Linked DNA regions of Homo sapiens: all the other regions are linked to region 4. The links are contacts of gene promoters, found by promoter capture Hi-C in blood cells and fetal thymus (Javierre and others, 2016). All regions are on one chromosome and are shown on one strand. Each heading gives the region's core, a stretch centred on a gene start or on the middle of the fragment in contact. The rest is flanking DNA. Distances are from core to core; before and after follow the strand shown. Region 1 overlaps ERH (ERH mRNA splicing and mitosis factor). Region 2 overlaps MAX (MYC associated factor X). Region 3 overlaps SLC10A1 (solute carrier family 10 member 1). Region 4 holds the start of ATP6V1D (ATPase H+ transporting V1 subunit D). Region 5 overlaps SLC39A9 (solute carrier family 39 member 9). Region 6 has its middle 11 kb from the start of SRSF5.

The links. Contacts are between HindIII fragments. The CHiCAGO score rates a contact against its expected background, and 5 or more counts as called.
Region 1: a fragment that was not itself captured here is called in contact with the fragment with the promoter of ATP6V1D in region 4 in 1 of 17 cell types (neutrophils); the score reaches 8.1 in neutrophils.
Region 2: a fragment that was not itself captured here is called in contact with the fragment with the promoter of ATP6V1D in region 4 in 2 of 17 cell types (fetal thymus and non-activated CD4 T cells); the score reaches 10.5 in fetal thymus.
Region 3: a contact is called between a fragment that was not itself captured here and the fragment with the promoter of ATP6V1D in region 4, in 1 of 17 cell types (naive B cells). The highest score is 6.0, in naive B cells.
Region 5: a contact is called between a fragment that was not itself captured here and the fragment with the promoter of ATP6V1D in region 4, in 1 of 17 cell types (neutrophils). The highest score is 16.5, in neutrophils.
Region 6: a contact is called between a fragment that was not itself captured here and the fragment with the promoter of ATP6V1D in region 4, in 1 of 17 cell types (neutrophils). The highest score is 14.1, in neutrophils.

What each region holds. Positions count from the first base shown.
Region 1 is chr14:69,381,788-69,385,555 of GRCh38, reverse strand. The region is part of intron 3 of ERH (ERH mRNA splicing and mitosis factor); the gene reads left to right. It also overlaps a transcript of GALNT16 not described here. Among named protein-coding and RNA genes, the nearest start is that of ERH, 15 kb to the left of the region's middle. The HindIII fragment of the contact is 619 bases long and covers 1,790-2,408 here.
Region 2 is chr14:65,094,577-65,098,887 of GRCh38, reverse strand. The region is part of intron 2 of MAX (MYC associated factor X); the gene reads left to right. Among named protein-coding and RNA genes, the nearest start is that of MAX, 5.8 kb to the left of the region's middle. The HindIII fragment of the contact is 1,288 bases long and covers 1,264-2,551 here.
Region 3 is chr14:69,775,102-69,778,888 of GRCh38, reverse strand. SLC10A1 (solute carrier family 10 member 1) reads left to right here. Exons shown (of 5, transcript NM_003049.4): 4 at 360-556; 5 at 2,501-3,473. The coding sequence ends at 2,607. Among named protein-coding and RNA genes, the nearest start is that of SRSF5, 9.9 kb to the right of the region's middle. The HindIII fragment of the contact is 808 bases long and covers 1,636-2,443 here.
Region 4 is chr14:67,356,928-67,361,218 of GRCh38, reverse strand. ATP6V1D (ATPase H+ transporting V1 subunit D) reads left to right here and starts at 1,415. Exons shown (of 9, transcript NM_015994.4): 1 at 1,415-1,561. The coding sequence starts at 1,521. EIF2S1 (eukaryotic translation initiation factor 2 subunit alpha) reads right to left here and starts at 891. Exons shown (of 8, transcript NM_004094.5): 1 at 763-891. It also overlaps a transcript of GPHN not described here. RefSeq lists enhancers at 636-1,435, 1,456-1,675, 1,518-2,304. The HindIII fragment of the contact is 15,355 bases long and covers 1-4,291 here.
Region 5 is chr14:69,400,822-69,404,962 of GRCh38, reverse strand. The region is part of intron 1 of SLC39A9 (solute carrier family 39 member 9); the gene reads right to left. Among named protein-coding and RNA genes, the nearest start is that of SLC39A9, 4.2 kb to the right of the region's middle. The HindIII fragment of the contact is 2,472 bases long and covers 149-2,620 here.
Region 6 is chr14:69,753,881-69,757,922 of GRCh38, reverse strand. No RefSeq gene overlaps it. Among named protein-coding and RNA genes, the nearest start is that of SRSF5, 11 kb to the left of the region's middle. The HindIII fragment of the contact is 5,135 bases long and covers 1-4,005 here.

The DNA of each region.
Region 1 (3,768 bases), core at 850-3,349, 2.0 Mb before region 4:
GTAAGTTTGCAGGCTGATGGGATGATGTACCAGAGAAGGAGAAACTGATAGCTCAAATTGGCTCTTGGACAGTTCAATCATAAAAAAGGGAGGACAGGCAAATTTGGGAGCTGGGGGGAATTATCTTCTGTATGCTTCAGTTATCTCAGAAAGATAAGGAGCAAGGACATCATTTGAAACAGGTGTTACAGGTTTGTGGAAAAGTAAGAAATAAGCTAGGAAGGTGAAAGAATTAGGGAACTGCAATTAATTCAGGGATGCATTAAGTGTCCTCCAAAGTACCTATCTGATAGTGATTTAAAGTGAAATCAGTCATTGTGATCATGGGATTTTTTTCCTAGTCTCTCTCACCTGGATGGTTACAGGTGAGGAGTAGGTAGAGAGTAAAGATTTTGCTAAAGGTTGAGGGCATATATGAGGACAACAGCAACGACTGAATGACCATGAGCTTTAATTGGGGGTGTAGGAGGAGGTGCTGGAAACAGAGGTAGATCAGTTCATTGTAGGTCCCACTGGATCAAGGATTGCTCACATTAGAGTGTTAGGAAGTGGTGATCAGAGAATGACATGCTTGAAATTAGGAAATTGAAGTAGTTGGAAATGACAAGGTCTAGGGATCTGGCCAAGAGAGGGTAGGAGATGAGATCATTAGAGGAAAAGACTTCATGGAATTGGGAGGCCTAAGTGTTGACAGAATCATCCACTGGATATGAAATTACCAATAATGTGTATATTAATTGATAGAATTTAAGAAGAAGTTGCTTTGTGTTTGTTCACTGCTGCATCTCTGGTACATAATTAGTGCTGAGTAAATATTGGTTATATAAATGCACGTCACTTGTGTTGTTATTTGAGGAATAGCTTTCTAAAATTATTGATAATTTTCTATTTCCCTTATTTATATTACAGAGCTATATTCTGCATTGATTAAAAATTAATGGTTGTCTTTATGGTTTTATAAAAGAACCTTACTGAAACATTCAGGATGTAATCCTGACGCTTTTGGGATGTCATACTTACTCCCAGTAAGTGGGAAGTAAACTTGAAGCAAAGGATCATGTTTTACTTGTCTTGGGAGGCTGTGGTTAAGAGCTAGCTGGAGTGGCAGAATTAGACATAGCTGGGTTTGAATCCTGGGTCTACCATTTGCTAGCTCCCTTTGACAAGGCAGCTTTGTATTGCTAAACTTTAGTTTGCTAATTTGTAAAATTCAGACAAATCTAGTTCATAAGACTCCTTGTGAGGATCAAGTGCTTGCTGAGCACAGCATTATTAGATATGCAGCAACTCCCTTTTCAACTAGATTGAAGAAGTCAGGATAGAGTTTTATTTTTAATTACAAGCATGTTCTTAAATTTGCCAGGAGTAGAATGATATGAATTTTAATGTCTACGTGTGAGATAAATTATAAATTTCAAGGGAGATTTAAAAGGTGTTGAGGTTTTTTCAACAATATGAAAATTGAGCAGAGTAAAACAGTTACAAGTGACATGTTAATGATATACAAGTATGTCATTAATGACATAACATAACTTTTCTAACTTTGTACTAGACTTTATAAAAAAAAAATTTTAGAGACAGGGTCTTGCTATATTACCCAGGCTGGTCTCAAACTCCTGGGCTCAAGTGATCCTCCTTCCTCAGCCTCCCCAAGGAGTGATATTACAGGCATGAGCAACTGTGCCCGGCTGCATTAGACTTTAAAATGTAAACTAGAAACCATATCTAGCATACTAAACTGATTTTTAATACAATATTTGCTATATTAAAGCAACATAGGGGGAAAGCTTTAATTATTACCTAGATAATTCTTCCCACCTACAGTATTTCCAGAAATATAGAAGAGAGGTTAATGATAATTTATGGTTTTTTAGTAGTTTCAGAGTGTTAAAAACCGTAAATTATCATAGCTTGAAAACCTGTAACTATTTGTTTGTTTCTAATGTTGAAAATTTTTTGGCCTCTGAAAAACTTTCAGAATCAAATTTAGGATTTAAAACTATTTTCCCCAGGTGACTTTGGTTATGTCCTTTTTGTTCTTTGAATATTCAGGAGAAATAAGGTATTGTTTCCAAAGAGGTAACCCACTGCCACAGCACATCCTGTGATTTGGGCCGTTACTCCTCAGACCAGAGACTGGGTCCGTTTTTGGTTTGTAGATGGTTGTGTGCTCATAGTTTCTATTAAATTTACATGGCAGTGACCTAGGACTTTTTTAAATTAATTCTTTTTAAACAGCGTAGGTGGAAATGGAATAAATAAGATTCTACTTTGTAACATGACTAAACCCAGAGCAAACTGACCATGCATTAATAATAAAATGTAGGCATGAAAATTTGTATTTCGTATACTTAAAGTCAGAGTCAGATTTTTCCAGTTTTCTGATCTGTATGTTTTTTAAATAAGCTTTTTGTAAGATGAAAATAATGCCCTTTTGATTATGCAGTATTTTCTTGTTTGCTTAGAGACATAAAGAACATTTAAACTGTCAGTTATTATAATGACAAGAGGTATTCCTGATCAGTAAGAGAAGTTATCACTGAAGACATTTCTGATTTCACTGCCCAGACCCACAGCTTCTGTTCTTATATAAACCTACATTCATTGACCATAACAATAGGTTAAAAGATTCATCTGTGCCAATGACTAGGCATTTTATTAAAGTATTTAACATTTAATTGTCTCATTTTCAAGTGCCAGTTAACAGCCATCGACACACAGCTTTCCATAAAGAAGGCATTATTGCTTTTTTTTTTTTTTTCTTTTGGAGATAGAGTCTTGCACTGTCGCCAGGGTTCAAGCGATTCTCCTGCCTCAGCCTCCCGAGTAGCTGGGACTACAGGTGCGCGCCACCACGCCCAGCTAATTTTTGTATTTTTTTTTTTTGGTGGAGACGGGGTTTCACAATGTTGGTCAGGATGGTCTTGATCTCTTGACATTGTGGCCCGCCTGCCTCAGCCTCCCAAAGTGCTGGGATTACAGGCATGAGCCACTGGCACCTGGCCTACTATTTGATGAGTTGGAAAATTGCATGCAAGTTGATGGATTCCTTAATGTTCACAAACCAGAGTGATTTTTGTTGGGGGGAATGGTATAAACAAAGCCTGTCCCACCCAGATATGATAATTGTGAGAAATTTTGTTCCTTTTTAAGTTATTTTCCAGTGTTAATATAAATGTTATAGTCTCTTCTGCTACATTTTGCAGTAGACTAGCTTAGAGCTTATTTAATTAGGAAGCATGGACAAAGAGTTTTCAGAAAAAATTAAATTTTAGAATTTTTAAATTTGGTTAAGCATTTTTAAAAATGGGAATCTTGTACATTTTTAATAAACCAGATTGTGACCTTACTGTTCAGAGGAAGAATATGATGTTAATTGTATAAAGCATTCCTACTTTGGAATTTATTTCCCTTGCCAAAAATTGTAGTTTAGGTTTCTAACTTAGTGATTAACAGTGAGGACTCTGGAGTCAGGAGTATTTAAAATCTATCTCCAGTCCAGCATTACCTAGCTAATAACTTGCTTCACTTTTTAAAGCCTTGGTTTCTCATTTATGAAAAAGGAGGCCAGGTGCGGTGGCTCACGCCTGTAATCCCAGCACTTTGGGCGGCCGAGGCGGCTGGATCACTTGAGGGTCAGGAGTTCAAGACCAACCTGGCCAACATAGTGAAACCTGGTCTCTACTAAAAATACAAAACATTAGCTGGACGTGGTGGCACACACCTATAGTCTTACCTACTCAGGAGGCTGAGGCAGGAGAATCATGT
Region 2 (4,311 bases), core at 658-3,157, 2.3 Mb after region 4:
ACATGAGAAATGTAAGATACTGAGAAGAGAGTTAGGAAGTTAGGCTAACTCTAACAGAAAGTGAAACTGATTTGGCAAATATTTTTTTCTATTGCTTCAGTACAAACGGAAAACAGCTTCTCCAATGGCCAGTAAGCTTTGTTAAAGGAAGTAACCCCAAAGAGTATTCTTACTACTAAATTCAGTACATCGCAAAATCCCACTGATGTTATTTTTATTATATTTTGGAGGGAAGAGGTTGCATTTTAAAGATAAATTTGTGGGACAGGTATATTATATTGCAAGGGCTTCCTTTTGCTTTATTTCTGTTTGGGAAATTTCTTTAGGAAAGAGTGTAAGTATACAGGAAATGTATGGGTTAGTGTGTTGGTCAGGAAATGCAATTTTTTTTCCAGTGACCATCCTTGATGGCACCTGACTGAGTTGCAGTTGCAGTATACTTGTGAGGGGTTTGAAAACAGATTTGTGCAATTCCACTTCTGGACCTTTCTGGCATGAAATATTTTTAACTTCTCAGAGCTCTTTGCTTCTTTAGGAATATTCAGAAGAGAACGAGCTTGGTAGCCTCCGAGATTGGAATTCACTCAGGAAACTACTGTCTGTTTTACCTGCAGTCAGTTGCATGGCAAAAGTGCTGCACAATGCATGTACTTTTTCTCTGCTTAGAGTGTTGACAGTGATGCTTACAGTGATAACAAATGCCAGAGTTAGTTCCTAAATGTGCCTGTGTTAGGGTAAAAGTTGTTCTTATGTCTAAAAGAATTTTTCCAAGATGCCAGTAACGGTGAAATAGTTGGTCAAAGAATTCAGCTTGGTTTTTAATTAAAATTTCCTGACCAAGGCATCCTTCTCTGAAATGGCTATAGTATGAGGCCCTGTTTGGATTATAGCATTTGCCAGTTATTTTAGGCACCAAAAGAAAAAAGTTTGAAAACAAATACATACATTAGATAATGTTGGAAATGTATACCAGGCAATCAGCTACAAGCAGGACAGGTATTGGAAAATTGAAATCCATGTCTTTCTCTTAGGGAGCTTGGTGAGTTTATCCCATCCTACCTGCCTATTATTTTATGTTATAATTTTTGGGTTGATTAAAATGAATATTTTAAGTTGCTTAGAAATTGAGCTTTATCCTATCTTGTTCTTATCTATCAGAAGTAAGAAATAGATCTTTTCGGATGAGATTTTTGGGTCTGTGTATTCTCGTGTCCTTAGTCTCTAATAAGAATAGCTTGATAAGAATCATAAGCAACACAAGCTTCCCTCTAAAATACAACCTTCACATTTTGTAAAGGTAGTAAATATTGAGTGGGCAACTAATTCCCTATATGCTGAGAATTTTCTGTATTAGAATTGAGATGGTTCCCCTTATAGGTGGGGTTAGCTGTCAGGTAGCCTGTAAGACATGGCATTGTTCTGGAGAACCTTGTGCATCCTGGAATAATGAAGCATTTATTTCCCCGTGCTATTTGCCTAGAACTTGGAGGAAATAAGATTACTGACTGATGTGATGCCTTGAACAAAGATGCAGTCTCTCTGCAGTAAGTTGGAAGGAAATAATTTTAAGAGATTTCCCTCAATTTTGAACAGACCTCCTTAGCCTAGATGACTTCTTGCCAACATAGCAACTTCTTGGCTAACAAAATAATGTTTGTCTTCAACATCTAACAACACTTAAGATACACGTGCTTGGTAGTGTCAAAGATGGACAAATTGTAGGTGAAGATTTTTATTCTGTCTACCAGTGTGGAAAGTTGGGTAGAAATATAACTGAGAGGCTGAATAAAAACTTTGGCAGAGATGTCAAAGCTGGAAGTGATTTGGTGCGGGAGTTTCTGTTGAGCATCTGTGGACCACTGCATAGCCCCTTAGTATTTCTGTTAGGGATGCCCTGGAGGAAGGGTTTTCTGGCAGACATCCAGACGTACAAATCCAGCGTACTAGAAGAGTGGGCAGCATCCAGCCACTGTAACCATAGGATGTGTAGGGGAGATGTTTGGGAGCCTGCTGTACAGTCCAAGAATACCTCTGTGGTCTCCTAGAATAGGGCCTAATTAATTCCACAAGGGGGTTTTCCGTACCATTTGTTTTCATTACTGAACATCATTCTCAGTACAGGCTCATCTGAGTAGAGTTTTATTTGTTCAAGACAATTGTTTGGGCTTGTTTTTTAAAACCAGTTTTGCATTTGGGGGAGGATATTAGATGCCTTACACTGGGAGTCTTCACCCAGTTTTTCTTCTTCAACTCTGAAATCTTGGCCCTCTCAAAAAGGGTTGCCAGCAAGCAAAGACAGTTAACAAGGCAGTGATAAAGCCTGCAAACTAGTCCTCCAATGGGGGTGGGGATGAGGCGCGGGCAGTGTTATTGGTCTGGGTGGATCTGTGGTTTGGAAATGTTTCCCACAGAGAATTCTCAGCCTTGTGTAAAGGTTTTTCTGTTTTTCATGTGCTCTTTCAAAACATTAGTGATAACATTTAATTCACAGTTGCCTGGAATTAGGCTTGTTAGTTCTGCATGTTTTTAACTTGTTCTTTCAAATCAAGCTTGGGGAAGAGAAAAATACATCCTTGCCATTGTCTCTGAGAGATTTAAAATTGACTCCACTAGTAGCTCAGGGATGGACATGGCAGCAGGGATTGGTGTAAGATTCCACTCTTCTGCTAGTTAAATTGGGCCTGGAACCACTACAGAAATTCCATCCACTACTTTGAGAACAACAGTCCCCAGCCCAGGCTTTCTACCAGGCAGTGGACTGCTGCCTTTCCTTGTTGAGCCAACTTCTCAAACTTGGCTGGCTCCCCAGATGAGAAGCCAAGATTTCTGCTCATGATCTACAGCCAAGTTCACTTACAATCCTCCAACCGAGAGACTTGTCCATTTGAGTCCTTTCAGAGCTCAGTGAATGGGAGGGGGTAGTGCATTGTGGGGATGATTTTGGTGTTAGATTATACTTAGCTCCACCCCTTTAGTGCAGGTCCACGTGAAACCAAGTGCAACTTCATTCTAGCTGTTTGAGATTTGCAGGGCTCTCCCAGAAAGAAAACAGACAATTAGAATTTTATTTGTATCAACAAGAGGGATTGTGGGTAATTCTGGTGCACAGCTCTTAGCTGGGAGGAGGGCCAAGAATCAGGGTGATTTAGTAGACAGGAGTATCTTGGGCTGCTCTGGAGACCAAAGATGGGCAATTAATTTGCATGTAAATAAACCACCTTAGGTAGTATATAGCAAACAGGAGCCGCAGACACATGCCAAATATTGTCTCTTGGCCTTTAAGCTCCTTAGGTATAGTCGCAGCCCAACTTATCTTTATGTAGATGATCAGAGGGAACAACAGTAAGTTCAAAAGGACTAGATACTTAAATAGGTTCAATTCTGTCGCACTATTTCATGCTACTGTTAGAAGGCATCTATAATTTTGCGCTAAAGTTGTATGATACAGAGTACCTACCTCTACCCTCAGGTTATGTGGTGTTCCAAACTTGACTGTCCTCTCAGCTTCATATTTCATGTCACTATAGTTCAGTAAACATTCATTTTACAGTGAATCCAGACTTAACAAGATTAGGACAACTTTAGAAGTGCTCCAGGCATCTGCCCCAAAAAGAGAGATATGCTATGGAGAACCATGGTTGTCATGGGAACCACATGTCCAGTTCAACAGAGCTGTAGGTGAGGTATTATGTTTAAGAGACCAGGAAGTAACTCAGATGACTACAGGTGCTCCCAGTCTCCTCTTCCTCTGTAATGACTGGGACTTTTAGGATTAAATAACAGGAGAATTTCAAGTCCTTTCGTTTTCACAACTCTTGATAGATTTTTGTCTGTACATCTTCTCTAGTACAAGGATTAATGTGAGGCAGCATTATTCTTGTGCTAAGCCAAGTTATTTACTCTTGTTCCATTTTTTGAATTTCTGGCCCTCTGTTTGTATAGATTTAAGCTACCTGAACTTCCCATGTACAGACTGGCTCTCTAGATTAGCTCAGTGCAACGTTGTGCATTCAAGGTGAATGTTCAGAGCATAATTTCCGTAATTCCTAGAGTGTAGGTGTGATGAAGTTCTTCTTGCTTTGGGTTGTTTGTGTTCCATTTGGAGGGGAGACCCCTCTGATGGGGACCTGCTGAAGTGCTCTTATCATGCTCTCCAGCGCTATCTCTTCTGCCTGAAGCCAGAGCATTTTGCCATTCCTGATTTGGTGTTGGCAGTTTTGGTCCATCTCCAGCTGACCGTTCTTTGTGATTCCAAGCAGGCTAAGGCTTTGACTTGGATATTTAGATACTGCCAGTTAGCCTGACCTGCCA
Region 3 (3,787 bases), core at 790-3,289, 2.4 Mb before region 4:
GCCTGGAGATAGGTATTATTTTAGGTCCCACTGTCCCATGGGCTTCATTCTTGTCCTAGTCTTTCAGGAAACGAATAAGAAGCTAGGAACCTGAAATCTGGGCAAGACACTTTCCTGGCAATATGTTCAGATGCACTAACTGGACAAGAGACTTTAGACTTGAAAAAAATTGAATGAAGGTATTGAACGGGTTAAAAATCCAGACACCAAAGGTATCCAAACACCAGCAGCAATAGCAAAGTACCCCTGTCCAGGGTCTAGATTCCATCTGCTGCGAAACTCTTTGGTAGCAGCACTGGGACAAAGTTGCTCCCTCCAGTTCCCTCTGAGTGTATGTGGGGTTTTCTTCACCGGCACAGGTGCAGACGCACTGTCAGCATGGAGACTGGATGCCAAAATGTCCAACTCTGTTCCACCATCCTCAATGTGGCCTTTCCACCTGAAGTCATTGGACCACTTTTCTTCTTTCCCCTCCTCTACATGATTTTCCAGCTTGGAGAAGGGCTTCTCCTCATTGCCATATTTTGGTGCTATGAGAAATTCAAGACTCCCAAGGGTGAGTACTGAAATTATCCCCACTTCAAGTTCTGCTCCAATATTAGACCTGAGCCTGCCAACAAGCAAGTTTCTAGCAGGGACTTTTTGGATAGGGCTTTAACTCTTATCAAGTCACTAAGAACCAGGTAGCCCCAAGAAGCACCCAAGAAGCATTAAAGATCCAAGACTACTTCCATCAACTGCACTCCATTTCTTCCTTCTAGCTGGGAGAATGAAATTGCAGATGCAGTTTACCTCATAAAACTGAAGCAATTTGGGCTGCTTTGTCTCAGTGGGGAGACATCATAGGACAAAACTGCCTTGGACAACTGAGGTTATTAGTTGTGTGAAAGGCCTCTATTCGCAAGAGTTGGGGAAGTTTCCATTTCTCAGGACTAGGTTCTCATTTCCTGGAACCAGATCAGAGCCACAGCACCACTGGCACCTCCGTATGAGGAAAAACATATGAAAGCAATGCACCCTAATATAACCCAGAATAAAGAAAAAAAAAAAAGATTCCTCAACTCTAGTTACGCAGTAAAGGAAACTTAAGCATACGGTTGTTAAACAGTAACTACCTCCACAATAAACTTAATATGATTTATACTTTACTCTGATCACTATGGGGTTAACATAGCATCTCTTCTCTAAAATGCTCAGAGTATTACCTTTCAAAATAAAATTGAACCTCAAGACAGACCAGAGAACAGAGTGCCTTCCTCAAAGTGCACTTTAACACCAATTTTAAAAAAAAAAAAAAAAAAAAAAAAAAACAGGACATTCAAACCCACTTTATAACACATTTCATTATAACTCTCAACATTAGTATATTCTTCCTAAGTACCTACCCAAATCCTTCAACTGTCCCTTCATGTCCATGAATTGAAGTCCCCTTCAAAACCTTTCTAGACCCTAGGGACTGTGATTTACACCCTAGGAGAAATACACAACTTTCCCTATTGGAATTTGTTACATTATACTAGCAAGCAAATGCCGATTCTCTCTCCCTTTGCAATTAGCTAAGATGTAATTAGGTTGCCAAGCAGCCAACACGAAACAAGTACAGGCTGACCATACACTAGAACCATTTTAGAAGCTTTGGTTCAAAGCTACAGTAGAGTTGTGAGAAAGAATCTACTCTGATGCTTATCTGAGAGGAACGCAAGAGATTTGCTGCCCTCTTACAAAAAGTGCACAGAAGTTTCTAGACCAACCAAATTCCCAGATTTGAGGTTTTAGTACCAGAAAGACCTGAAGTGACCTCAAAGGACAATACTCTATGGATCTTTAGCTCTCAAGACTTGAAAAGAACTTTCCTCACAGTGTATCTCAGAAGACCCCAGTGGAAACACTAAATCAAAGCAACGTATTTCTTTGGACCTAATGGCCCCAAGAAGCTATTCTCAGGGGGGAGGAATCTGTCAAGTTTTTATACTTTTCATTCCTGCACCTGATGGGAGAACAACTCTGTATAGAGAACTCTCCCATCTGTATAGAAAGGTGCAGGAATCAAAGCTATCTTCAAATTTGCATCACCGCCTACACCACGGACAAGAAGAGGTAGATCAATTGGGGGTTGGAGGGAAGAACTGGAAACTCTCTTGGTTAGACTTTCTCGAAGATCTTTCCTGCCTGCCTCCTCATTCCCTGAATGCAACACAGACCTTGCATACATAAACTCATCTCCTGTTGTTTTACTGTATAACGAAGTTAGAAGTGAAGTGATGATGAAGACACAATAGTCTAATTCATTAGGACTTTTACTACTAGTACTACCATTAGGGAGACTGAGGGGAAAGTGAGTTTAAAGAGTAAACCATGGGAGAGACGACAGAGATGGAAAATATATACTTAGCACACTCTAGGGCTGAGTTGGTATTTTTGTACTTTCCAGATTAAACAAGCTTCATTGTTCACTCCTCTTGTTCTCTCTCTACACCTGTAACCCTTTTTAACTTTACAGATAAAACAAAAATGATCTACACAGCTGCCACAACTGAAGAAACAATTCCAGGAGCTCTGGGAAATGGCACCTACAAAGGGGAGGACTGCTCCCCTTGCACAGCCTAGCCCTTCCCCTGGTGGCCTGGATTCTGGTCCCAAAGCAATTCTGAAAGCCAGTGTGGTAAACTAGAGAGAGCAGCAAAAACACCAGTCTTGCCTGAGTCTTTCTCCAGCATTTCCAGTACATCTATCAGAATCATCAAGTCTTGGCCGGGAACACAGACAGGGTGTCTACCCAAGAAGCCTCACCTATCCCCAACTTAGAATTTGCTACTTATTTTAAAGACTTGTTCAGTGACTGTAAACTCTATGAAACCAGAAACCGAATCTGCCTCTTGCTGGGATCTCTAAAAGTGTCTGATAAGCATCTTAAAGTCACTCAATTCCTGAACTAATCAATATATATGTTTAACCCATTACTCAAATACCCAAATCCCATTCCAAGTTTTGTGACCCAAAAGAGAAATAAATGCTCACAAGTGCTGTAGAATTAAACTTCAGAAGTTCTAACCTAAAAAGTTCAGATCCTATTCCTTCCCTTTTGACATTATTGGGATGATGCTCCCGAAAAGTCAAATTTGACATCAAGTATGCAAAAGTGAACACAGTAAGATGCAATCAGGCAAAACAAACTCAAAAAATAGCTAATGAAATGAAAAAACTGGGCGAATGCATCATGTTAGTAGAGGAGGAAAACTTTTGACAAGGAAAAACCAGGAAACAAACACATACATTAACACAATGTTACCTCACTAATAATCTCTTTTTTAAGTTCAGTAGGTATTTGGTTTTAACACAAGGCGCCCCCAAAACTGGGTACAGCAAACTACTGCCAAAATGAGTCGTTTCCCAATTCAAAGAAAAATGTTCAAATACCTAGAATTCACAAATTTCAAATTGTCTCTAATAAAATTTAAACATTTTGCATATCATATGTAAATAAGGATCAAGTAAATGATTAACAACTAATATTAACAATTACAAAAAGTCAATCATGCTTATTAGTTACTTGGGATTTTTATCATTTTGTATGGTCAGGTACAAATGAAACCAAGACAATATAGTTTTCGGGTATCAGTTTGGCAAATGTGCAGGACTAACAAGTACTCCCAACACCAAAACGAGAAACACAGATTTGGGTTACTAACATCCTCTTAAAAACGCAGATTTTTGACAAGGCTACCACCTATCATTTTTACTTATTATATCCATATATACCTACCTGTTCAAATTGTTTTCTCTATTA
Region 4 (4,291 bases), core at 166-2,665:
AATAAAAATTTAAAAAGCCTAAGTTTTGAGGATAAAGAGACCTCAGCATGACTGTGTATTTAACCCGAAAATATATCCTTATCTTAGGTTTTAGTTATGCTTAACTAACATAGTTAACCTAACATATGCTTAACACAGTTCTATTCTCATTGTCGCCAAAATACGACAAACTGATAGTAACAGTAATAAACTCAAGTCTCATTTAGTTTTGGTTCAAGGGGTGACTCATTCAATTATCAGATGAAAAACTACTCGGACCCCGCTCTTTCCAACACGGTGCCCGTCCCACAGGTTTCTCAGGTAAGAGGCCAGTTTGGTTTCCACTGAGACGCAGGGGAAATTTTTGGTAGAGCTGTTGGGGCGGAAGAAAAGATGGAATTCTCAAGCCTGGAAAAAGCAAAGTGCTCAGCGTCCTGAGCCGGGGTTAAGAGTTACGGTGTCACAGCGTTCTCCTGAGACCGCCCCATCGTCATGGCATTCTCACTTTCGGCATATTGTAGAGGCTGTACAATCCACTCGGCCCACTTTCCTTCACGAGATTCCTCTGCTCGAACAACGATGCCTCTGGAACACAGGATGACCTACACGGAGCCGGCGAGGAGGCCCACGACAGCGCGGGTGGTGGCGGTGCTGTCCAGCCACTTCCCGCGCAGGGACGGGAAAGGGAGGTATTAGCCCGGGGCCTACCCGCTCTCGAACACCCATGTCACTGGACACAAACCAAAGTGAGTTCCTGGAGAAACCGAGCTTGGGATTAGTCACCTGAGGTATGTGTGTGATTCCCGCACTGGAGCCCAGAGCCGACTTCTTCAATCACAGAGACCAGACTTGCTTCCCCCTCACCGGCCGCCGATCCTCCTCAGCGTGCGCTTCGCTCACTCCACCGCGCATGCGGAACCTCCTCGCATGCGCAAGCGCTGAACGAATAGAGGCCCCTCTTCATCATTAACCATAGAGTCTGGGTCCTCCGAGAACAAGGACGAATGTAGATCATGGAAGGACCTGAAAAGTACTGTTTCTCGCTATCTTAGCTTTAGCTAAGTAACCTTCAAGGCGCGAGAAAGACATAGGACTCCGATTCCTTGCCTCTGAAGAATGAATCCTCTTTCAAAGTTTCAGCTAACCATGAGATGGCGCTGTGACCAAAGACGAAAGGTGGAGAAAGACAAGGCGTGCACGCTTCGCTCCTAGTCTTTGGCCTGGCGCGTGCCGCGTATTGCGCAGCCGCAGGGAAGCTGGATGGGGAGGGGTTGGGAGGCGAACCGGAATTGAGGGGTGGTTCCGCGGTGCGCGCGCCTCGACATCCGGGCAACGCCTCTGTTCTGTCCTCCCCCTTCGTCGCCTGTGACAACCGGAAGCGGAAGTGAAAATGGGTGTCCCTGCTGCCTCTTAGCAACAAGAGGGGTCAAGTGACACAACCAGCTGACTCCCGTAGAGGAAGACACTGTGGAGGCCAGTTCTGGAGCTATTGCAGCCTCGGTTGCCCGGCCGGGGACCCGAGCCGAAAAGTTATCGTCAGAATGTCGGGCAAAGACCGAATTGAAATCTTTCCCTCGCGAATGTAAGTAAAGGAATGGGATAAGCCGCTTTCACAGGTTTAGGAACCCGGAGCGCGGTCCCTTCAGACCCTGGGCCACAGTGAGGGTCCTTGTTTCCTGGGAGGATCCTGAGCTTTTCCCAGGTTCTTTTCTTGAGTCTAGGGCGAGGCTTCCTGACGGCCTCTTCGCGCATTCCTCCTGAGTGAATCAGGCTGGACGAAGCGATCCCAGCCGGTAGGAAAAGGCGCCCGGCCGGCGGGCTTTTGTGGAGGTCTGCTGTCTTTATTCATTAATGGATTCATCCATTCCACATACCCTTATTGAGCCGGGCACTGGATTTATATAACTGAACCGTCGCCACCTCTGCCCTACAGAGCTCACAGTTTACGTAGCCAGACATTCGTCTGGAAAGGCCAAGGAGGTTTTAATAAATGCTCTGAGAAGGGAAGTTTACTGAGGATATAGAAGAGGTCCCTAAGCCAAAGTGGGGATGGAATCGAATCGCCCTAGCATAGCCCTCGGATTCGATCTTGGATCCCCTTACTCATTTTCCAAGATCCCGCCAAATGTCACCTGCTGTGAGAGGATATCCCTGTGTTTCTGAGGCACTGCTTTTGCTCTCTCACCGCTGCACCTTGTTCAGACCTGTGTTAATACCGGTCATCACGCTGTAAAGTAGATATTTGTTTATGTGTCTTTCTCTCCCACTAGACTGTGGGCTCTCTCCAGGATGAAAGAGTGTCTTAATCCATAGAAGGTCCACAAAAAAATATTTCTTGAAAGAACTCATGCTTGGGAATACGCTCAGTTGTGGGCTGCCTTTCTTTTGGGGCCTGAATTCTTTGTCAGGAAAATGGCATATCACTGTAGGTGTTTGGCTAGTTTGTAAGGAAAATTTTGACGTTTTCTCAAATGTGCCTAACAACTTGCTCCCTTTCTCCTCCTCATCCTGTTTATTTTTATTTAGTTTGTTGTTTGTTTGTTTTAATAAGAGACAGGGTCTCCCAGGCTGGGGTGCAGTGGTATGATCAGAGCTCACAGCAGCCTCAAACCCCTGGGCTCAAGTGATCCTCCGGCCTCAGCCTCCCTGGCGGCTGAGATTATAGATGGGAGCCACCGCGCCTGGCTTTCCCTTTTTCTTTTCAGTGAGGAAGCAGAAAATCAGTTTTGACCCTGACATTTAGACCCTTTTATTGTGGTCCTATCTCTGTGGGGGTGTTTTGTTGTTTTTCCTCATTCTGTCCTTTGAGAGAATCTGAGGATGCTTAAAATAAAAGTTATATTCAAACCTGAAGCCCAGATTTCTTTCTGCCCGGTGACTAAATAGCTCTTAATGAAATGAAGTTTTTAAATTTTTTACCTTCACCTGTTGACTTTCTAATAGCTGTTTGCACTAAGTAGGCAGCAAGCTAGTTGTGGGGAAATAAAGATGAGGACTATCCCGAGGTAGTGACAACTGCAGAACTCCTAGGACGTGATGACTCAGTCAAAACTTCTGCACTGAAAGACATCGACACTAGTTTATCTTCTAGCAATGTAAGGCCTGCCCCTAGGGTGACCCCAGGCCGCCCCCCGCCGCCCCCGCCATTAAAATGCCTGCCTGAAAAAGCTCAAAGCTAGGGGGAGAATTTACTGTTTGTTCTAGTCAACACCTAATTGATAGACCCCTCTCGTTCCCTTTTTAGAGCATTTACGAAACAGGCTTACAATTGTTAATATGTATCTCTTCCAACTCTGAAGTGTCCCTTCAAGTATCTTTGAGAGCCATTTCTTTGAAACGTAATCATCAGGAGGGATAGGGGCTTTGTCTCCCAGTCTGTGTGAGAGGATAGAATAGTAACTTACTAATTGCCAGGTAGTATGGCGTTTACACTGACCAACACTTTAAGGTTTCTCTTCTCTGACTCTTCTTGCGGCTGGCTCCCTGCCACTCCCTTACTCTCTTTTTTAAAATGGCCAGTCACCTCTGCACAAATGAGAATTGAGCTCAGCCCTTTCCCCTACTATCAGTGGTTTACTGAATAAAATCTGTTTTCACTACTTTAACGAATGTCTGGCTGGGTTTATCTTTGACAGCAGTCAGAATAACTTTTTTGTTTTTACTTTGAAACTTTTACTTTGAGACTAAGAGGCAAAAATAGACATCTTTGGGCTTAGGTAAGAAAATGATAGGCTCATGAAGGTGAAACTACTATTTGAAAGCTCTCAGCTTGCTGATTGAGAGGAAAATCAGGTGCAGGAAATAATCTCTTCTCTAAATATTTTCCCCATGGCTGGCAGCAGGCTTTTTGTCATGTAGTCAGATGTCTTTGATTCAGCTGGAAGAAAAGTCATCATCCTAGCTAAAGGTCAAACTTTTTGAGTAGGACTGAGCAGCTCTGAAACATGTAAAGGAGCAAGTTTTAAAAGCCATAGGCTAGAAAATATACTGGCAGCTTGTTTCACAGACATTTCCATTCAACAGTATTATTCTGTGATGTTACTTTCACCCACTTTCGTACCAGAGAAAGCAAAAACAATTGTAGAGTGGAAGTAAAAGACGCATGAAAAATTTGGAGTCAACAGAAGTCCACTAAATCCAGGTTCTGCTACATATTAGCTGTAAGTGTGCACGCTGCTCTTAGAGTTTCAGGAATTAAAATTGCCCATTTCACAAAGATGCCATTCCCTAGGAGGAAAATAAAATTAACATGGTAAATTCAATTTTATCAACCAGTTTACCTTTTACTATAAACTGGCTGGAATATGCAGTA
Region 5 (4,141 bases), core at 135-2,634, 2.0 Mb before region 4:
TTAGGCCTCCCCAGCTATGCTGAATTGTGAGTCAATCAAACCTCTTTCGTTTATAAATTACCCAGTCTCAGAAATGTCTTTATTAGCAGTGTAAGAATGGACTAATACAGACACAAAACTTTAAAACACGAAAGAACAAAACAAAGCTTAAAATGAGAGTAAGTATAATGAAGAAAAGAGAGTTAAATACTAAGAAAAATAGTATAAAGCAGGGAGGGTAGAGGAAAAGCCCTGGCCTCTCCAAATAGAATGGTAAATAGTAATGCAAACCAAACCCCACAACAAGACCTTTGGATTCCAAACAAATTGCCGAGAAGTTTCCATGACTGCGAAGGGGAGGAGGGGGAGGAGCTTCCCATTATTAAGTCTGTTTCCAAATAAAAGGTTTAACAATTATAAATTAGAACAAAGTTATAAAAATGAAAATCTTTACAAGTTTTTCTAATCAGTATTGAGAATCTGCCTCAATATTTTTGAAAGTTTTTATTATGTTCTAGACATAGTGTTAAGCCTGTGCTTATATTATTTCAACCTCACAACAATCCTAGAAGGTCATTTAACAGAAGAGATTTGGATTTTAATAGCTTGTTCAAGTAGTAACATTGACTTTGAATGATACTGTCTCAGACAGTCCCTTTTGAAATCAGTGCATTATTAATCATATTCATCTTTAAAATCATCCTAAGAATAGCACTACTTTCATCTGCCAACTTATGGATTTATGCTGTTGGTTATTTTAGGGAGTAGGTCTCCTTATGTTGCCAGTGGCTATTCACAGGCACACTCATAGCTCACTGCAACCCTGAACTCCTGGGCTCAAGTGATCCTCCCACATCAGCATTTGGAGTAGCTGGGACTAACCAGTGTGTGCCACTACATCCAGTTTTGCTGTTTTTGTTTGTTTGTTTTTTGTTTTTTTGAGAGGGAGTTTTGCTCTTGCTGCCCAGGCTGGAGTGCAATGGCGCAATGTTGGTTCACTGCAACCTCCGCCTCCCAGGTTCAAGCGATTCTCCTGCCTCAGCCCCCCAAGTAGCTGGGATTACAGGCACGTGCCACCACGCCCAAATAATTTTGTATTTTCAGTAGACACAGGGTTTCTCCGTGTTGGTCAGGGTGGTCTCGAACTCCCGACCTCAGATGATTCGCCTGCCTCGGCCTCCCAAAGTGCTGGGATTACAGGCGTGAGCCACCACGCCTGGCCTGCTTTGCTGTTTTAATACATGAAAAATGTGGCATTATAACTCAAACTGGTCTGCAATAAGAAAAGTATGGCAACTGAGATAAAGCCTTCAGAAATTTTTAGAGCAATATGATTATTACAATTATAGTAGTAATTTTTTATCTGTTGAATTTAACAATACATTTGGGCTTGTATTTTCTATGTCTTTTTTTCACTTCATTTTCCTACTATTTCATTTTTATAAGTGTATTGGTATGGATTGAAATAAAAATTAAAAACAAAAACTGATCCTTTACCAGGCAGTTTGAGGAATATTGCTGTAGAGCTCTGAGCCAAAAACAGCTTGCTCTCTGTTACCAGCTCTGTGACAAAGAGGAGACATACTCAGGTGAGTAACAACCCTCAGATAATCAATCTGAAATCCCACTTGAGCCATCTGTTTTTGTATCATAGCTCCATTTATCAACTGCAGCAGCACTGAGTTTATACTAGGTAATATAGGCTCTCAACCTACTTATGTAACATTGTTATTTAGAGCCAAAGAAAACTACTCATTAGCAATTCAATCGAAAAAACATAAGACAGTGTTAACTATAAACCAACGGGTCTCACTCCCTTACCAAACAGGGCTTCCTTTGTGTAAAGCATGCTTTGGCCTCCTTTATTTATTTATTTTTATTTATTTATTTTTATTTTTTTCTGAGACAAAGTTTTGCTCTTGTTCCCCAGGCTGGAGTGCAATGGTGGGACTCGGCTCACTGCAACCTCCGCCTCCTGGGTTCAAGCAATTCTCCTGTCTCAGCCTCCTGAGTAGCTGGGATTACAGGCACATGCCACCACGCCCAGCTAATTTTTGTATTTTTAGTAGAGATGGGGTTTCGCCATGTTGGCCAGGCTGGTCTCGAACTCCTGACCTCAGGTAATCCGCCCACCTCAGCCTCCCAAAGTGCTGGGATTACAGGCGTGAGCCACTTAGCACCTGGCTGGCCTCCTTTAAAAGTTAAAAGTGTTTCTCTTTCCTGTATACTGAAAAAATTTACATCCTGATTATCATAGTTACTTATAATTGCATTTGAGAATCGGATTTTTTTTCCTTTGTTTTATAAATTTTTAAGGCATGAAAGTACAGTTGCCAGGTCAAAGGGCAAGGAAGAAGGCCACAAAAGTATCAAGAAAGGTAGTTTTGGGGTGAGGAGAAACTGACAGAGAAATCAATGTCACATAAACCTCTTGGTGGGCACATCTGGCAGGTAGACCCCACCACTACTGCAATTTCAGACTACCTAATTTTAACTCGTTTTTAAATACTAATCTTGCCATAATTGATCATCTGACTTTTATTCCTGTTCTGAGATATTTTTAGAAAAAGTATTGAATGAGAAAGCAGCAGCAAGATTAAAAACATGAATAAAAAGCATATCTTTTCATGTAAATCAAGCTTGTCCAACTCATGGCTCGTGGGCCGCATGCAACCCAGGAGCACTTTGAATGAAGCCTTACACAAATTCATAAACTTTCTTAAAACATTATGAGTTTTTTTTTGCATTTTTTTTTTTTAGCTCATCACCTATCTTAGTGTTAGTGTATTTTATGTGTGGCTTGAGATAATTCTTCTTCTGATGTGGCCCAGGGAAGCCAAAAGATTGGACACCCCTGATGTAAACGAAAGTGAACTGTAAAACAGTAACACTAGCCTCTAAGAAAGCCAGACTTCCTTAAAAAGGCAAGTCATTTATCCAGTGTAGGAGTTTGGGGAATTATTTTCTAAGGAAAGAAATGGTGCTTTCCAGTCCCCCGTGAATGAAATTTATTTTTACAAATTTACCATCTCACTAGTTTCATTACAACATTGGTCCATAATAATGGCATAATTTACCTAGAAAATATGTTTAGTTCCTAGGAGATAGAAATCCTAGTTGAATTCTAGGATGTCTTTAAGTTATATATAACTTTCATTTTTTATTCTAATAGCTCAAAATGCATTGCATCTACTCTAATAATAAACAGATATTATGAATGCTGATTTTAGCATTTTAAGACCTACAGCTGGAAAAGACCATCTGACCGTCAATTTAAGAAAGCCACAAATGACATGACATACTAATTATCTGTATTAATGACCCAGTTATTAACACCACTCCTGTAAACATTTCCTTCTAGTGAAAAAGGAAATAGTATATATCCGCATATTGCAATAATCATTCAAGGTAGTTTGAAAAAATACTGGAATTGGTAAAGTTAAAGGCATTTTATAGAAATAAAAAGTTTTACTGGTTGCTTATCAGAATTAATTATGATTATTCATAAATGTTACTTCAATATGTTTAAAAATACACAAACCAACCCAAATCTCACACATGTCAGCCCTACTAATGTCAATTCAATTCTAATATAGTTATAAGAAAATATGGTTATGTCAAAGGAAACATAGCAGGTTCACAAAGTACTGGGCAGGCAGGTAACCCAAATAAGTGAAACAGGCTTCAAGGGCAAGGAGGACTGTGCCTAACAGCTGCTACTCAGCCCGACCCAACCTTTGCCTCTAGGAAATACTGGTAAAGAACAACAATAATAAACTTCTGCTAATGGAACAGTCTGCAGGCTGGATTTGGCACACAGGCTACCATGTATATGTACCATGTACCTTTGCCGAAATGCTTAGTGGCTACGAACTAGTCTGAGTCAGAAAAGCTAGACTGAAAAAATACCTCTCTTCTGATTCTAACAAACTTCATGAACCTATCCAGTCTCCGTTTCCTCATCTATATGTCACTGATTTTTATTTTCTTTTTTTTTTTTTTTAAGAGAAAGAGTCTCAATGTTGCCCAGGCCAACTCCTGGGTTCAAGCAATCCTCCTACCTTATCCTCTTGAGTAGCTAGGACTACAGGCGCGCCCCACCGCACCCAGCTTGAGTTTTTTAAGTGAAGTTAGGTAATGCACGTAATTTTTTAAAATGCTA
Region 6 (4,042 bases), core at 189-2,688, 2.4 Mb before region 4:
CTCAGACAACCTATGCAGAGGCTGACTGAAGCCTCCAGCCAACAGCTAGCAAGGAAAGAGTCCTGCCCACACCATGTGAGTGAGCTTGGAAGCAGAGTCTCCAGCCCCAGTCGAGCCTTGAGACGATGGTGGCTCCAGCTGACAGCTTGACTGTAACCTCACAAGCAACCCTGATGCTGAACCATCCCACTAAGGTGCTCCCAGATTCCTAACCCCCAGAAACCACATGAGATAATATGTTTGCTGGTTAAATTGGGGGGTAATTTGTCACACAGCAATAGGTAACTAACCCAGACGGTGAGGCAAAAATAGTTGTGCATTAAGTCAATCGTGGGATTGATGGGGCAGCAGCAAAGGGTGGAGACAAATTGGAGAAATATTGAGAGGACCAAGTATAACAACTTGGTGATCAATTTGACATAATAGATAAAAGAGAGATAAGAATAAAATTTCAAGCTGGGCACAGTGGCTCATGCCTGTAATCCCAGCACTTTGGGAGGCCAAGGCAGGCAGATTGCATGGGCCCAGGAGTACAAGACCAGCCTGGGCAACATGGTGAAACCCCATCTCTATAAAAACTACAGAAAAATTAGGCTGGCATGGTGGCACACACCTGTAGTCCCAGCTACTGGGGAGGCTGAGGTGGGAAGATCGCTTGAGCCCAGGAGGCAGAGGTTGCAGTGAACCAAGATTGCACCACGGCACTCCAGCCTGGGTGATAGAGTGAGACCCCATCTGAAAAAAATTTTTTTATTTAAAAAAGAATAAAATTGCACTTCCAGGCTGGAGTATGGGTATGTAGCATGGGTGCAATAGAGGGGTCAGAGAATAGAGAATGAACAGGTAATGCCCACGAGTCCACTCAGGCTCATTGATTTGGAAGTTTCTGGGCCATCCTAGGAGAAGATTCCGTCAGGCAGTAGGATGCATACGTCTAAAGCATAGGAGACAAATATGAGCCATTTTTTTTTTAAGTTGAGAAAAATCCCCATATATGTGACAGTTGATACCACGAAAACAGATAAAGTCACCCAGGTTTTTGTTGAGGCAAAGATTTGAAGGGAGAGCTCGGCACAATGGCTCATACCTATAATCCTAGCTACTTGGGGGGCTGAGGCAGGAGGATCACTTGAGTCCAGGACTTCAAGACTAGCCTGGGCAACATGACGAGACCCAGTCTCTGAAAATATTTTAACATTTTAGAAATTAAAAATAAATTGTTTTTTAAAAATTCAAGATGTGGAGGGAGTATTCTGTGCACAGATTAAGAATGTGTTTGCCTTGGAAGGAGCCTTCTAATGACCAGCGTGAAAAGGGCCATGAGCCCAGAAGAGCACACGTACAAATACTATGGGGGTGAGAATTCAAGGGAGATAAGCCGACCAAAGGCTTATAATCAGGGCTGGGACTAAGGATCACAGGAATATGATTAACTTGCCTTAGAATTCAGACAGAACCCTGGCACAATTGGTTTGTGTCCACTCTTGACCTGGTACATTTGTATATGTCAGTGTGGCTCACATGCTATGGATTAGTCCATCAAAAACACATTCCTGCTTTATTGCATTTTACATTTAATTTTAAATAAATGCTCCTTTTGGTTGTTATTACAAGGCATGTTAAGTGCATATTTAGTGTTTTGTTCTGGAAGCCATTTGCCAACCATGACCTGGTCTGACATCTGGGCCACAGTCACCACTGCTCAAATGTATGCCTTTCTCTAAATTTCTGTAGCACTTTATGCTTGTACATCTCCTCTAGCAGTTATCACAGACTTCCTTGGAATGTGATTATTTGTAGACAGATTATAAATTCTTTGATGTTAGAGACCCTGTTTTACAGATCTTTGCACCCTTCTCAGTGAGAAGCACAGTTTCCTGCTCATAATAAGTTGTAAACAAGTGTGCAAACCAGCTTGTACAGGACGTCACTTGGACTGGCTGATCAGTGCCACTCCCTGTCCTTGGATAATGTCATGTGCTGTTCTCATGGTTAAACTCTCTTAAGCAGCTATGTCTCTGCTGTCTAAAGCTACCCCTACTCATTACTAATTGTCTCATCATAGAACAATGCGTTTCTGTCTACCCTATGAATTTGCAGTTTTGAACTGAGAGGCCCAAAGGTGAAGCATCTTAATGACAGCAGGTGAGAAGAAAGGTGGCTTTCCCATCTGTGGCTGAAGTACCCAGGGCTGCCCTTGTACCAGCACCTCCTAAAATTGGGTTGTTTAAACCTCCCAGATCTCATGAGATGCCCCCAGCACCTTCCACTAATTTCCTCTCTCTGCTTAAGATGGCTCAAGTTGGCTTCTGTAACTTGAGAGCAAAATAGCTTAACATACAACATGATCCAGTGTAAGCAATCAAAAATGGATTTATTGTTAAGGATTCAGAAGTGTCTCATGAAATCCAAAGGTCAGAATGTGCTCAGGCCTGAGGAGGAGTCTGAAACAGGAAGTGGGAACTGTCAAGAACTCAGATACATACAATTTCCACCTCCCTCCTCTGTTTTTTTATGTCATTTGCTCACCTCCTGCAGCTTGGCTTTCCTTGCCTCTCAATCCATATGGGAGAAGATGACCACACCCTATCACCCAGTTTTCATATCCCTTCCATTCAAAAGTAGATCCCAGCCGGGTGCAGTGGCTCACACCTGTAATCCCAACATTTTGGGAGGCCAAGACAGGAGGATCACCTGAGGTCAGGAGTTCAAGACCAGCCAGGCCAACATGGTGAAACCCCGTCTCTACTAAAAATACAAAAATTAGCCAGGCATGGTGGCAGGCGCCTGTAATCCCAGCTACTCGGGAGGCTGAGGTGGGAGAATTACTTGAACCTCGGGGGGCGGAGGTTGCAGTGAGCCGAGATCACACCACTGCACTCCAGCCTGGGCAAAGAGCAAGACTCTGTCTCACAAAAAAAAAAAAAAAAAAAAAGGTAGATCCCAGAATGAGCATGTGAGTCTCAATTCCAAGTTCCCTGGAAAGGAAAACCTGATTGGCCCCGTTTAGGTAAGGTGTCTATTCTGGTCCAATCAAAGATGAGGTCACATGGTACAAACATGGCTGCCAAAGAGCTCACCTCATAGATGAGGATGATGTTTCTCAGTATTATTGTCAACAAAGGTGAAATCCCAAATGTTGAATAAACAAGCAGCTCCATTTCAAAATGGCCCTGACTGCCCTAGATTAAATTCCCAAGCACCCACCAACCTTTCACCAAAGCAGGCCAAACCCGCTTTATCTTCCAGCACTAGGCCCTGCTTTGGCAAAGACATGTGAAACCGTCTTATCTGCCTGGGTCATGCCTATCTTCCTTGCATGATTAGGCACAAGAAGATTTCCTAATGGTTACCTACTGTAATTGTAACATTCAGGAATAATTGGAGGGCTGATACATGCCCAGGTACTGTTCAAGGAGTTCCATAGGCTTCTTTCATTTGACCCCCTCAACAGCCCTAAGAGAGGTACTGCTAATCCTGTTTTACGGTAGAGGAAATATATTTTGAGAAGTTTCTTTCCCAAGCTCAATAACTATTAGTGACAGTGTAGGATTCAAGCCCAAGAGCTCTTCCAATGGGCCAAGGTCAACTCTGGGGTGGAATGGAGGAGTGAACAGAGTGGAGTTGAGCGCCTTGGCCAGGGAAGCAGAGGCTAAAATGGAAACCGAGTTTAGGCTGAGGGGCTCAGACACTGTGGATGCCCTGCTTAGTTTCTGAGGCACTGACACTCCCCACAGCCCTAACTCAGCACATGCCTATCTTACTCAACCTTCCCCAGTAAAATAGGGCTAATAAGGAGCAGAGTAGCATGATGATTACAGTGATTTATCTTTTGAGTCTCAAAGCATTTTATAAGCATTTCCTGTCCTGGGCAGATTTAAAAGATAGACCAAATTTAGACCACATACCCATAATAATAACTCACATTTATCAAGTGCTTACTGTTCCTGACACATGCTCAGAACTTTGCATTAAACCACCTACTTCCCCAAAACACAACAAGCTTTCATAAGAGGAGACTGAGGCTTAGAAAATAACTTCC